2 separate regions of the Homo sapiens genome follow, and region 1 is linked to region 2. Evidence: promoter capture Hi-C in human tissues and cell types (Jung and others, 2019). All regions are on one chromosome and are shown on one strand. Each heading gives the region's core, a stretch centred on a gene start or on the middle of the fragment in contact. The rest is flanking DNA. Distances are from core to core; before and after follow the strand shown.

The links. The method cuts DNA at HindIII sites, captures the fragments that hold promoters and counts their contacts. A contact is called where the count stands out against the background at its distance.
Region 1: a fragment that was not itself captured here is called in contact with the fragment with the promoter of ATL2 in region 2 in 1 of the 25 tissues and cell types used here (aorta).

What each region holds. Positions count from the first base shown.
Region 1 is chr2:37,212,416-37,217,908 of GRCh38, reverse strand. It overlaps CEBPZ (CCAAT enhancer binding protein zeta), which reads left to right. Exons shown (of 16, transcript NM_005760.3): 6 at 872-925; 7 at 1,491-1,593; 8 at 1,701-1,769; 9 at 2,957-3,023; 10 at 3,948-4,045. It also overlaps a transcript of CEBPZOS not described here. Among named protein-coding and RNA genes, the nearest start is that of CEBPZ, 16 kb to the left of the region's middle. RefSeq lists an enhancer at 1,990-3,189. The HindIII fragment of the contact is 4,916 bases long and covers 702-5,493 here.
Region 2 is chr2:38,374,494-38,379,560 of GRCh38, reverse strand. ATL2 (atlastin GTPase 2) reads left to right here and starts at 2,288. Exons shown (of 13, transcript NM_001135673.4): 1 at 2,288-2,418. The coding sequence starts at 2,301. RefSeq lists silencers at 1,869-1,918, 1,989-2,148, 2,369-2,868 and enhancers at 2,119-2,368, 2,195-2,694, 2,695-3,196. The HindIII fragment of the contact is 9,835 bases long and covers 1-5,067 here.

The DNA.
Region 1 (5,493 bases), core at 1,910-4,409, 1.2 Mb after region 2:
TTTTTTTGAGACAGAGTCTTGCTCTGTTGCCTAGGCCAGAGTGCAGTGGCGCGATCTCGGCTCACTCCAAGTTCCGCCTCCCAGGTTCACACCATTCTCCTGCCTCAGCCTCCCGAGTAGCTGGGACTACAGGCACCCGCCACCACGCCCGGCTAATTTTTTGTATTTTTAGTAGAGATGGGGTTTCACCATGTTAGCCAGGATGGTCTCGATCTCCTGACCTCGTGATCCGCCCACCTCAGCCTCCCAAGGTGCTGGGATTACAGGCATGAGCCACCGCGCCTGGCCGCTTTATTGTTATTTTTAATGGACCTATAAGTATTTACAATTTTTCTGTTTATTTTTATAACATAGGTGTCTGTAGATATAAACCTGTTGAATAGAAACTGATGGAATTTTTGGTTTTTAAGTGTAGGAAATGGTCCTGAGACCAATATGTTTTGAGAATCACTTTTTTAATGTATTGGCTTAAATTTCAAATTTTTGCATTTTCATTTTTGTTGTTGTTGAAATAGGGTCTCACTCTGTCACCCAGGCTGGAGTGCAGTGGTGCCATGTCAGCTCACTGCAGCCTCGACCTCCTGGGCCCAGGCAGTCCTCCCACTTTAGCCTCCTGAGTAGCTGGGAGTACAGGCACGCGCGCACCATCACACCCTGACTATTTTTGTACTTTTTGTAGACATGGGGTTTCGCCATATTGCCCAGGCCAGTCTCAACTTCTGGGCTCAAGCAATCTGCCTGCCTGAGCCTCCCAAAGTGCTGGAATTACAGGTGTGAGCCACCACACCCAGCCCGATTTTCTTAAATAAGCTATAAATGTACTAAGAGTCGACCTTAGAAATATTGATATTATTCACATTTTTCTTTTTAGTTATCTGTGCATTTTCATCCCTCCGTGGCCCTTTTTGCAAAGACCATCCTTCAGGTGAGTCTAAAATAAATCCAAAGATGAGAAATAAGAAAAAAAGTATCATTTTAGATAATCAATAATTGGTCATACAGTGTTTTCTCTAACAGAGAGAATCTTGTACATTTTACTGCTCGTATAAAGAAGCAGTGACTTGTTTCATACAGAGTAGCAGATAACTTTTCCCACTCTGAGATGAGTGGAAGCAATAAGACATTGAAAGCCACGCAGTTATTTATTTATTACCTTCTAGCTCCTCTCCTGGAGAAATACTGCCTCACTTTCCCATTTGCTGTGTTTGCCACTTCAGGGTTTGGTTCCTGATTAATGGTTAGATGGCCTGCATTATTAATATTAGTCTATCCATCAAATCAACATTACATCCTAGAATATGTATGTATATGTATCTGTGTGTTTAATTTTTTAAGTATAATGTGCATGAGAGAGATATTTGAAGAGTCATTTATTGCATATTTGTATCTTCAATACAGTGTAATAGAAATTATCTTTTTCTTCCTTTTTCTTACTTGGATTCATAGACATAATTTGAATTAAGTTTTTAAATCCCCGCTCCACTTTTCAGGGAAACTATATTCAGTATTCAGGGGACCCACTGCAGGATTTCACTCTAATGAGATTTTTGGATCGATTTGTATACCGAAATCCAAAGCCCCATAAAGGCAAAGGTATGCTTCTATTTAGTGAATTATTTGGCTTTCATTTTTAATACATAATAAACAATATGAGCTTATAACTAGGTTTTGCATTATACTGTCATAATTTTACATTTCAGAAAACACAGATAGTGTTGTGATGCAGCCGAAAAGAAAACATTTTATTAAGGATATTCGTCATCTTCCTGGTAAGTATAAACCTTAGACAGTTGAAACTGAAAAGACAATATAAGACAAAGATGCATAAATTGTATTATTCTTTGTTCTAATTTATCAGAATAAAACCTGAGCATCAAAGACATTATCCATCTTTTTTCCCAAGAATAGGTATTCTTAAATCTACTGTATCTGACTGGGCCTTTTTTTTTTTTTTTTTAACTTTATTACAGCAAATTTGAAACATATCCAAAATAAACAAAATAGTATGATGAACCCCCTCCCCATTACCATCACCCAGCTTTGACAGTTGTCACCATTTTATCATCCGTAGCTTCATCCACAACCCCTATGTATATAATTATTATTGCTTACAATTCAGACCATCTTAAAGCTCTCTAATATCAGCTTAGCAGCACAAAAACCCACAGCTGGTTTTGTCACAGAGCATCATTTTAAACTTAATAACCTACTTCTATATTTGCTAGCCATCTTCTGGATCTGAGTCTGTTGTTGTATTCAAAGCAGACATTTCTTTGCATACCAGATCTCATCTCCCTTTTGTTCAGAGACCAGGATTAAATTAGACCTTATAGATCATTTAATTTCCAGTGACTTACTTCACAGAGGTCCAGAGATGTAAAAGGACTTACCCACAGTTAGTAAGTTAGAATTAAAAGCCAAATCTCCTTTTACTCAGGATGAGTCAGCAATTTTTATTCTGAAGAGGTAAAACTGATTTCTTGTAGTTCCTTATTTCTTAGTTTTCCTCAGTATAAAGGAAAACTCTGTTAACTTCCTGTTTATTCCCAGAATGGCACGCATTAATGGCAAGCTTGTCATTTTTTGAGCTGAAAATGACAAGTTTAAAGTGATTATTTATTAAAATAACTCTTTGAATTTTTTATTTCTCTTGAAAGTTGGGTCCTGGATGCAAATGAAGAACAGTAAGAGAACCCTGTTGTTTCACTGTAACGGCACTGACAGCTATGTACTGCCTACTTTATGCTGTAGCCAGTGAAGTTTCAAATGTTGGGGGGGTCTTCACACAGACTTTTTCAGAGATTGTCCCTTGCACTCCAGAGTCCCTTCTGTCTACCTTCCCACACAATTCTGAGATTTTTAGAATTACAGATTATGCTGTATTTTGTCTTAAGAGCTTGAGTAACATAAAGGGGATTGCTATATGAAGTTAAAATGTTTAAATTTATTTTTGTAGTGAACAGTAAGGAGTTCCTTGCAAAAGAAGAAAGCCAAATACCAGTGGATGAAGTGTTTTTCCACAGGTACTATACATAATATAGTTTCATTTGGGGAAACTGCTAAAATTTAAATTTTTAGATTTCATAAAATGCTTCATTTTATGAAATAATCTACTTCAATAATCTACTACTGTGTGTAAATAGACCATGGAACATTAGTGGGAGAAGTGGCCTTAGTTTTAAATGCTTCATTTTATGAAATCTAATCAGCATATTTTGAAAAGATCAAAGGATATGTCTGTGTTTGTTAAGAAAATTTACAAATCCGTCATTTTGCTAATCTTAATATATCTTAGTAAAACTAAAGTAAATTTGGGAGTTTTGTTAATTTAGCATATAAATTTTGTTTTATGCTTCTTTTTGGAATTTAGCCTTTAATTTCCTTTTATAATAATTTTCTTTATAGGCTTAAAATCTACCTTTAATATAGATTTTAATATAATACTTTAAGTTTAATATAGTGATAACTCATGGGTAATTTATCCAGACCATGGCCCTTAGAATGGATTCAGTGCACTGTTATAGAAATAAGTCCTAAACCAACTAGTATCATAACCTAATGCCTTAGGGTAGTAAAGTACCTCTTATCTCATCTGGTTGACTGGTTAATTAGGTTTGATTTGGCTTGTTTTTTAAAATCATTTAGAATGAATAATTTTGAGGGTTTGATTACATCTGTAAATGGCTAAGTTTTGCTGTATTCTAATATAAGAATAGGGCTGATAAAATATTATCTTTGAAATGTATTACACTTAAAAGATTCCAGCTACTTTTTATTGAGTTAAACTATTTTTTGTATATTAGATACAAATTTCAGTCATTTATTTCCAATTGAGTATACTTAAGATTTTACAGTTGTGGTTTGCCACTGGTCATAGGTGCTTTGATGATATATAGTAAGATTAGACCTTTAATAAAATTGTCAAATATATAACATGAATATTATAGGTATTATAAAAAAGTTGCTGTTAAAGAGAAACAAAAACGGGATGCAGATGAAGAAAGTATAGAAGACGTGGATGATGAAGAATTTGAAGAGCTGATTGGTAATTTGTTTTGTTGACTCTTTGTAAAATAATCTACTACTATGTGTTAATAGACCATGGAACATTAGTGGGAGAAGTGGCCTTAGTTTTAAAAAATCACTTAGCTAAGAATATCATGCAAATCACAGTGGAAGATTAAGAAATATTTGGGGCCAGGCGCTGTGGCTCACACCTGTAATCCCAGCACTTTGGCAGGCCGAGGCAGGAAGATTGTTTGAGGTCAGGAGTTCGAGACCAGCCTGGCCAATATGGTGAAACCCTGTCTCTACTAAAAACCCCAAAAAATGAGCTGGGCATGGTGGCACGCACCTGTAGTCCCAGCTACTCGAGAAGCAGAGGCACGAGAATCGCTTGAATCCAGGAGTCAGAGGTTGCCGTGAGCCAAGATTACGGCACTGCACTCTAGCCTGGGTGACAGAGTGAAATCCTGTCTCAAAAAAAAAACAAAAGAAACAAATATTTTTATGATATATGGTAATTCACCCACATTTGCACCAGAAAAATACATGATTTGTGCTTTGGATAGTCTATATAAGAAAACATTTATATTTGCTTAAGTCTATTCAATTGTTACAGCCAAATCTCATGTGAAAAAGAAATCCTTTTTACTATTCATAATCTATTATAGTATATCAGTACTAATTGATAGCAATAGTCTACTGTTTGATCTTTTTTATCTTTAATCCACAGAGCTACAGAAATTTTGATTGAAACTTAATAGACTTAAACAAAAAACATGGTAAATTGGAAAGACTTACACTGATTTCACGTTACATATTTTTTTGTTGTTGTTTTTTGGGGGGTTTGTTTGTTTGTTTTGAGACAGGCTCTCTCTGTCTCCCAGGCTGGAGTGCAGTGGCACAATCCCAACTCACTGCAGCCCTGCAGCCTAGACCTTCTGGGCTCAGGCGATTTTCCTGCCTCAGCCCCACGGGTAGCTGGGACTACAGGTACATGCCATGATGTCCGGCTCGTTTTTTTTTTGTTTTTTTTTTTGTTGTTGTTGTTTTTGTTTTTTTTTTTTTTTTAATAGAGATAGGGTCTTGCCGTGTTGCCCAGGCTGATGATCACTCCACCTCGGCCTCCCAAAGTGCTGGAATTACAAGCATGAGATGTTACATATTGTATCACACCTATTAAAAATGAGCACTTAAGTAGTTCTAATAGAGTAAAAAGGACGACAATTGCTAAATATCATTTTATTTGATATTTATCCTCTTTCCATAAAAGAACTGTAGAAAGAGCCGAAATTAACTGGATCCTTCTTTAGTTTTGGGATTTAACTAAGATCAGTATTTCACAGGTTTGTATACATTATTAAGGCACACTAGCAACAGTAACATTTACATTGTTTTGGTGTTCACTTGTCATAAACAGCAGAATCATGACTTAGAATAATTGATTCAGATACAAGATATATGTCAAGCTTGTCATTCTTTGTTGTATCT
Region 2 (5,067 bases), core at 1,039-3,538:
ATGCCAAGTTAATTTTGGTATTTTTGTGGAGATGGGGTTTCACCATGTTGGCCAGGCTAGTCTTGAACTGCTGACCTCAGGTGATCGCCCCACCTCGGCCTCCCAAAGTGCTGGGATTACAGGCATGAGCCACCACACCCAGCCTTTTTTTTTTTTTTTTAAATAAGCGTTTGACCTCTCTTGATTCAGGCATAGTAACCACAGATGGGGGAGAGAGTGGGTTTGGGAGCCAAGATAGGCAGAACACCAAAAAGAGAAGAACATAGGCAAGGAAAAAAAAAAGAAAAGAAAAGAGAAAAGCAAAGCAAAACACGAAACACATGGGGTAGCAGCCTAGATTAGTAGATAGAATTGAAGTCCTTAAAATCGAAGGCACAGTGAGGGAAACCATAAGGTCTTTTATTACATGTAAGATATTCAATATCTTCCAAAGGACTGCCTATACTAAGCATAGAGGGTGATTTGGCTTAGGTGAACACTGCACTTTGGTAAGGATTCAGGTAGCTTTTTGTTGTCACTGACTGTATCAACCTTAATTTAGCAAATGGCCTATGCTGTGCTGTTTGTAAATGGTTTCTTTTTTCTATGTGCCTAAGCAAATGTTTTTTAGTGAGTAAATGACAGTAAATAAATCTTTGTAGAACAATCCTCGTGAAGATTTTTTTGCCCTTCTTCTCCTCCTCCTCCTCCTTCTTCTGCTTCTGCTTCTTCTTTTTCTTCCTTTTCAATACTACGTTTTTCAGGCCAATGATAAAACAGAAAATGTCTTGACAAAGTGAGCTCTCCAAATCATATATCACAAGGACGTAAGAGGAATATCACTTAACAAGTTGATAAAGATCCTGCCATCAATATGAACGAGGGGGAAGGGTAACTGTACTTTAGATTGTGGAGGTGGTTCAAGTCCCAGAACTAGAATCTTAGTAACTCAAAGAATATTGCCAAGAACACGTATATAGTTATTCTCCTAGATTTATGTGACAATGATGACAAACTCCATATTCTGTTGAAATATATTTGGATGGGCCGGGCGCAGTGGCTCACGCCTGTAATCCCAGCACTTTGGGAGGCTGAGGCGGGTGGATCACGAGGTCAGTAGCTCAAGACCAGCCTGGCCAAGATGGTGAAATCCCGTGTCTATAAAAATACAAAAATTAGCAGGGTGTGGTGGCGGGGGACTGTAATCCCAGCTACTCCGGAGGCTGAGGCAGAGAATTGCTTGAACCCGGGAGGCGTGAGCCACCATGCCCTACCTAGAATGGTATTTTGAAAGCTTTAATAACACCAGTGCTTTTCTAGAGATTGTGCATGCTGTGAATTTTAGACTTATGAAAAGACCTGGACAAAACAGCTGTTTGTACACCCGGACATCTGTTTTTACTGGAGAAGAGGAATTTCTAATGCAGCTGGCAGTATGGTAAAAATCCAAAGGGATCATGTTTCACAGACGCCTCCACGGGCTGACTTGTAATTTAAAAAGTGACCTGAACTTTCTACTGGATGTCACTGGATCCCCAGAAGAAGGTTCATCACAATTAGGTAAGAACCTGCCACGATTCATTTTCCGATTAGAGTGCTTTCTGGCATGCCTCTGCAAGGTGCTAGGAGCACAGGGCCAGGGTATACACAGTTGAGAAGATGGGGGAAGGTCTCATAAGTAGATGGGGAGCGAATGCAAACAAACCTTAGGATGGTGGGGGGGAGGGGAAGCAACAGTAGGGACTTGGGTGAGGAAAGAAAAGATCAAGAGGAAAAGCAGGGCACTGGCAACAACTTGGGGGGTGGATGGGGAGAGAGGAGGGGAATGGCTGTGATGAGGAGGGGGCGATGAAAAGGAGAGAAGGGGTGCGAAAGCCACCTCACGTGCAGGACGCACGAATCAACGATTAGAGATGTAAAGCGAATTGGGAGGGAGGGACTTAGTTCTCTGGAGCTCCCTTCTGCGTTTGCAGAGCCTGGCCCAGCGCTAAGGGGGTGTGGTGCTGAGCTCAGGGAGGTGGGGGTGTGAGACGGCGGCGGCAGGGACACCCCCGCCCCAGTCCAACCAGAAACTTGGAGCCGGGGAGACGGATCTGCAGGCGGGCAGGGCGAGGGCGGAGCGAGCGAGCGATGGGCGGGGCGGGGGCGGAGGGAGGGCGAGGAGATACAGGCGGAGGGCGAGGAGATACAGGCGGAGGGCGAGGAGATACAGGCGGAGAGCGGCGCTAGGACCCGCCGGCCACCCCGCCGGCTCCCGGGAGGTTGATAAAGCGGCGGCGGCGTTTGACGTCAGTGGGGAGTTAATTTTAAATCGGTACAAGATGGCGGAGGGGGACGAGGCAGCGCGAGGGCAGCAACCGCACCAGGGGCTGTGGCGCCGGCGACGGACCAGCGACCCAAGCGCCGCGGTTAACCACGTCTCGTCCACGACCTCCCTAGGTACGGGCCAGCGAGGCAGAGGCCGCGGGGCCCTGATGGGGAGAGACGCTCGCTGCTCGGGCTCGCGGGCACCGGCCGCAGGCGGCGGGGTCGGAGTCCGCGGCTGGTTCAGGTCTCCTCCCGCCGCCGCGCCTGCCCGCCGGGCCTAGCCTCAGCCGCGCCCCGCGCTCCCGCAGCGCGCGGCCTGAAAGGGCGGCTCGTGGGCCGCGGCTCCAGTAGCTGCTGGGAGAACCAGTGGCGCGCGCGTCTGCGACCGGCCCGGCCCCCTGCCCGCCAGCCCGCCGCGTGGCTGCCGCCGTGTCCGCCCCGACCTTAGGGGGCGGCCTTGAGCCGTGGCCGCCTGCCCGGGGCGCGGGGAGGTCGGCTGCGGCTCCGCTCCGTCCGGCGAGCTCCGGACGCGGCGGGGCGACCCGTTAGCTGGTGGGCGTTCGCTGTCCCTTACGCGGACAGGGAGGAAGGGGTGGCCAGGGCATGATGGGCCCCGCGGAGGAGGAGGTCGCGCGGGGAGCAGACACCTTGCTGCCGGGTCCGAAAGCTCCTTAGACACCCTTCCTGGAGGGAACCGCAGTCCGCAGGCCAGGGCTCTGTCCCCGGGCTCGCGTTTCGGGGCTCCTCGGCTCCCGAACCCATTCGCGCGGGTTGTGCGTGGCTAGGGTGCAAGTCTAGATTTTCGTGTCAAACTGGGGTTATGAGCCGTTTACGAGTCACTTGGACGATAGTAAGGCCTGATCACTCTGAAAGTGTCTGTAGTGTGAAGTCACCTGATCCTTGGCTCCCTGGTTTTGCTGAATGTGAGCTCCTACTGTACGTGTACCAGGAGCGCCCCTGCCCCCTCGAAGACGCAGTTGCGTTGGCAGCGCAGTGTATCCCTCTCACTCATAACACCCCTATTTATAGGAGTTTAGCGTTTGATCTCTCACTGTGGTGCGAATTGATCGCATGAAATCCTGATTGAAAATTTTGATGGTACTTAAGAAAGGCATAAAGTTTTTTCAAAGGCTTATAAATAGTAAAAGCCTACGATTTGGTAAGTACGGCCAAGATAAGAGTTTATTATTAAATACAGATACGAGCTCGTGTCTTAAGATTTCTTTTTTTACGGTGTGTAAAGGTTTTGCTGGATAAAATGTAAAGCATTTTGGTATGATGTTAACCACAAGGACTCACTTTAATAGGAAAGTTTATTTGAAATATACTTCATCATTCCTGGTAGTTCTTGGCGCATGTCAGAGGTGATGACAGACTGGAGTTTTGCTAAGGGAAGAAGAAAAGGAAATAAAGCTTATTTTATTATTGTCTGCCAACCAAAACGCTTGACTGTTTGTACAGTGGTAGCACTCTGTAGAATAAAAAACTACCAAAGAAGCAGCTTCGCCTTAGATGTGTGCTGGTTGGATTTCTTAAGTAATTAATTGTTTTGGAATGCGGATGGATTAATTTCGCTCTTTTGGTTGGACCCTAGGGGAAGAAGTGTGTGTTCTTTTCTTTCTTTCTCTTTCTTTCTTTCCTTTTTTTGAGGTAAGAGTTTTAGATGCAGTTTCAAAATATTCTATGTATTTACCTTATTAGAAGAAACATAAATTTATACTTCAGTTATGGTTGTGAACGTTGTTGTGCTGTGGTATCTTGAGAAGAGATGATACTCTTCAGATTGTTGTTGAAATAGGGCCCACCATTTATTATTTAATAAATGCTTTTGTCTGCTACTCATAGGTTTTTGTCCTTTGTTTTTTAGGACGGATCAGCAAGACCTTCACTTGATAGCCATTCCTAGCAAATGATTGCCTAAAACAGTCCCTGTACCTGCTAATTTGCTCCGAGTCACTCATTAATGAGTTAAAAACTAAATGAGCTTGGTAGGATTTGTGTTTAAAGTGAGAAGAAACAGACTGAATGAAAAGGACTCATCTATTTTTGACTGTGTAGAAACTCTTTGTCTCCCTCTGCTTCCTGGAGAAATAGCTTCAAAAACCAAGTTGGGGTCAAGTGTCACTTGAGTAGTTTAGTGTTAGGGAGAGGCTTTGTGTTTATTCTTTTAGGAATGTAGGATCTTTAGAAAGCAAATAAGTACTCATTTTATTGGCTTTTTAAGTTGATAGGATTCTGTAGATATGATTAAATCTATTTAGTAAAGTGTTTTGAAATTCTTCGAAATTATTTAGGGAGAAGTAGCTGCCTTACAGTAAAGATATTATAGGGAAAAGAAACCCTGAGTGAAAATAAGATTATGGCCTTAAGTCGAGTGCACATAGGTGTATTTCAGGATTCGTTTTTCTGTGACTGTATTGTAACTTTAAAGTTTTGGAATATTCACAAGTATAAGTAACTTTCTTGAAATTGTTAGACCTTTTCCAAAATTAGGCTTTTTCCACAGTTGGTATTAGGCAGCTAGCTGCTAAGAGTACGGGGAGACTGATTAACTAGTTTGATAATGCTGGATGGAGTTCAACATATATTTTTTAAATTTTGGGACTTCATAGCAAGATGTATTAAAAAATTGTTGATGGTCATTTGGAAGACCTGTTTGACACACACAATTGTCAGCAAAGCTGTTTGTCAGGCCCTTAAAAAGTTAAGAGCCAGAAATGTAAGGCATAGGAGTAGAAGTTAAACTTTTTGGTAATGGTGGTTTAGAGCTTTACAGCGCAA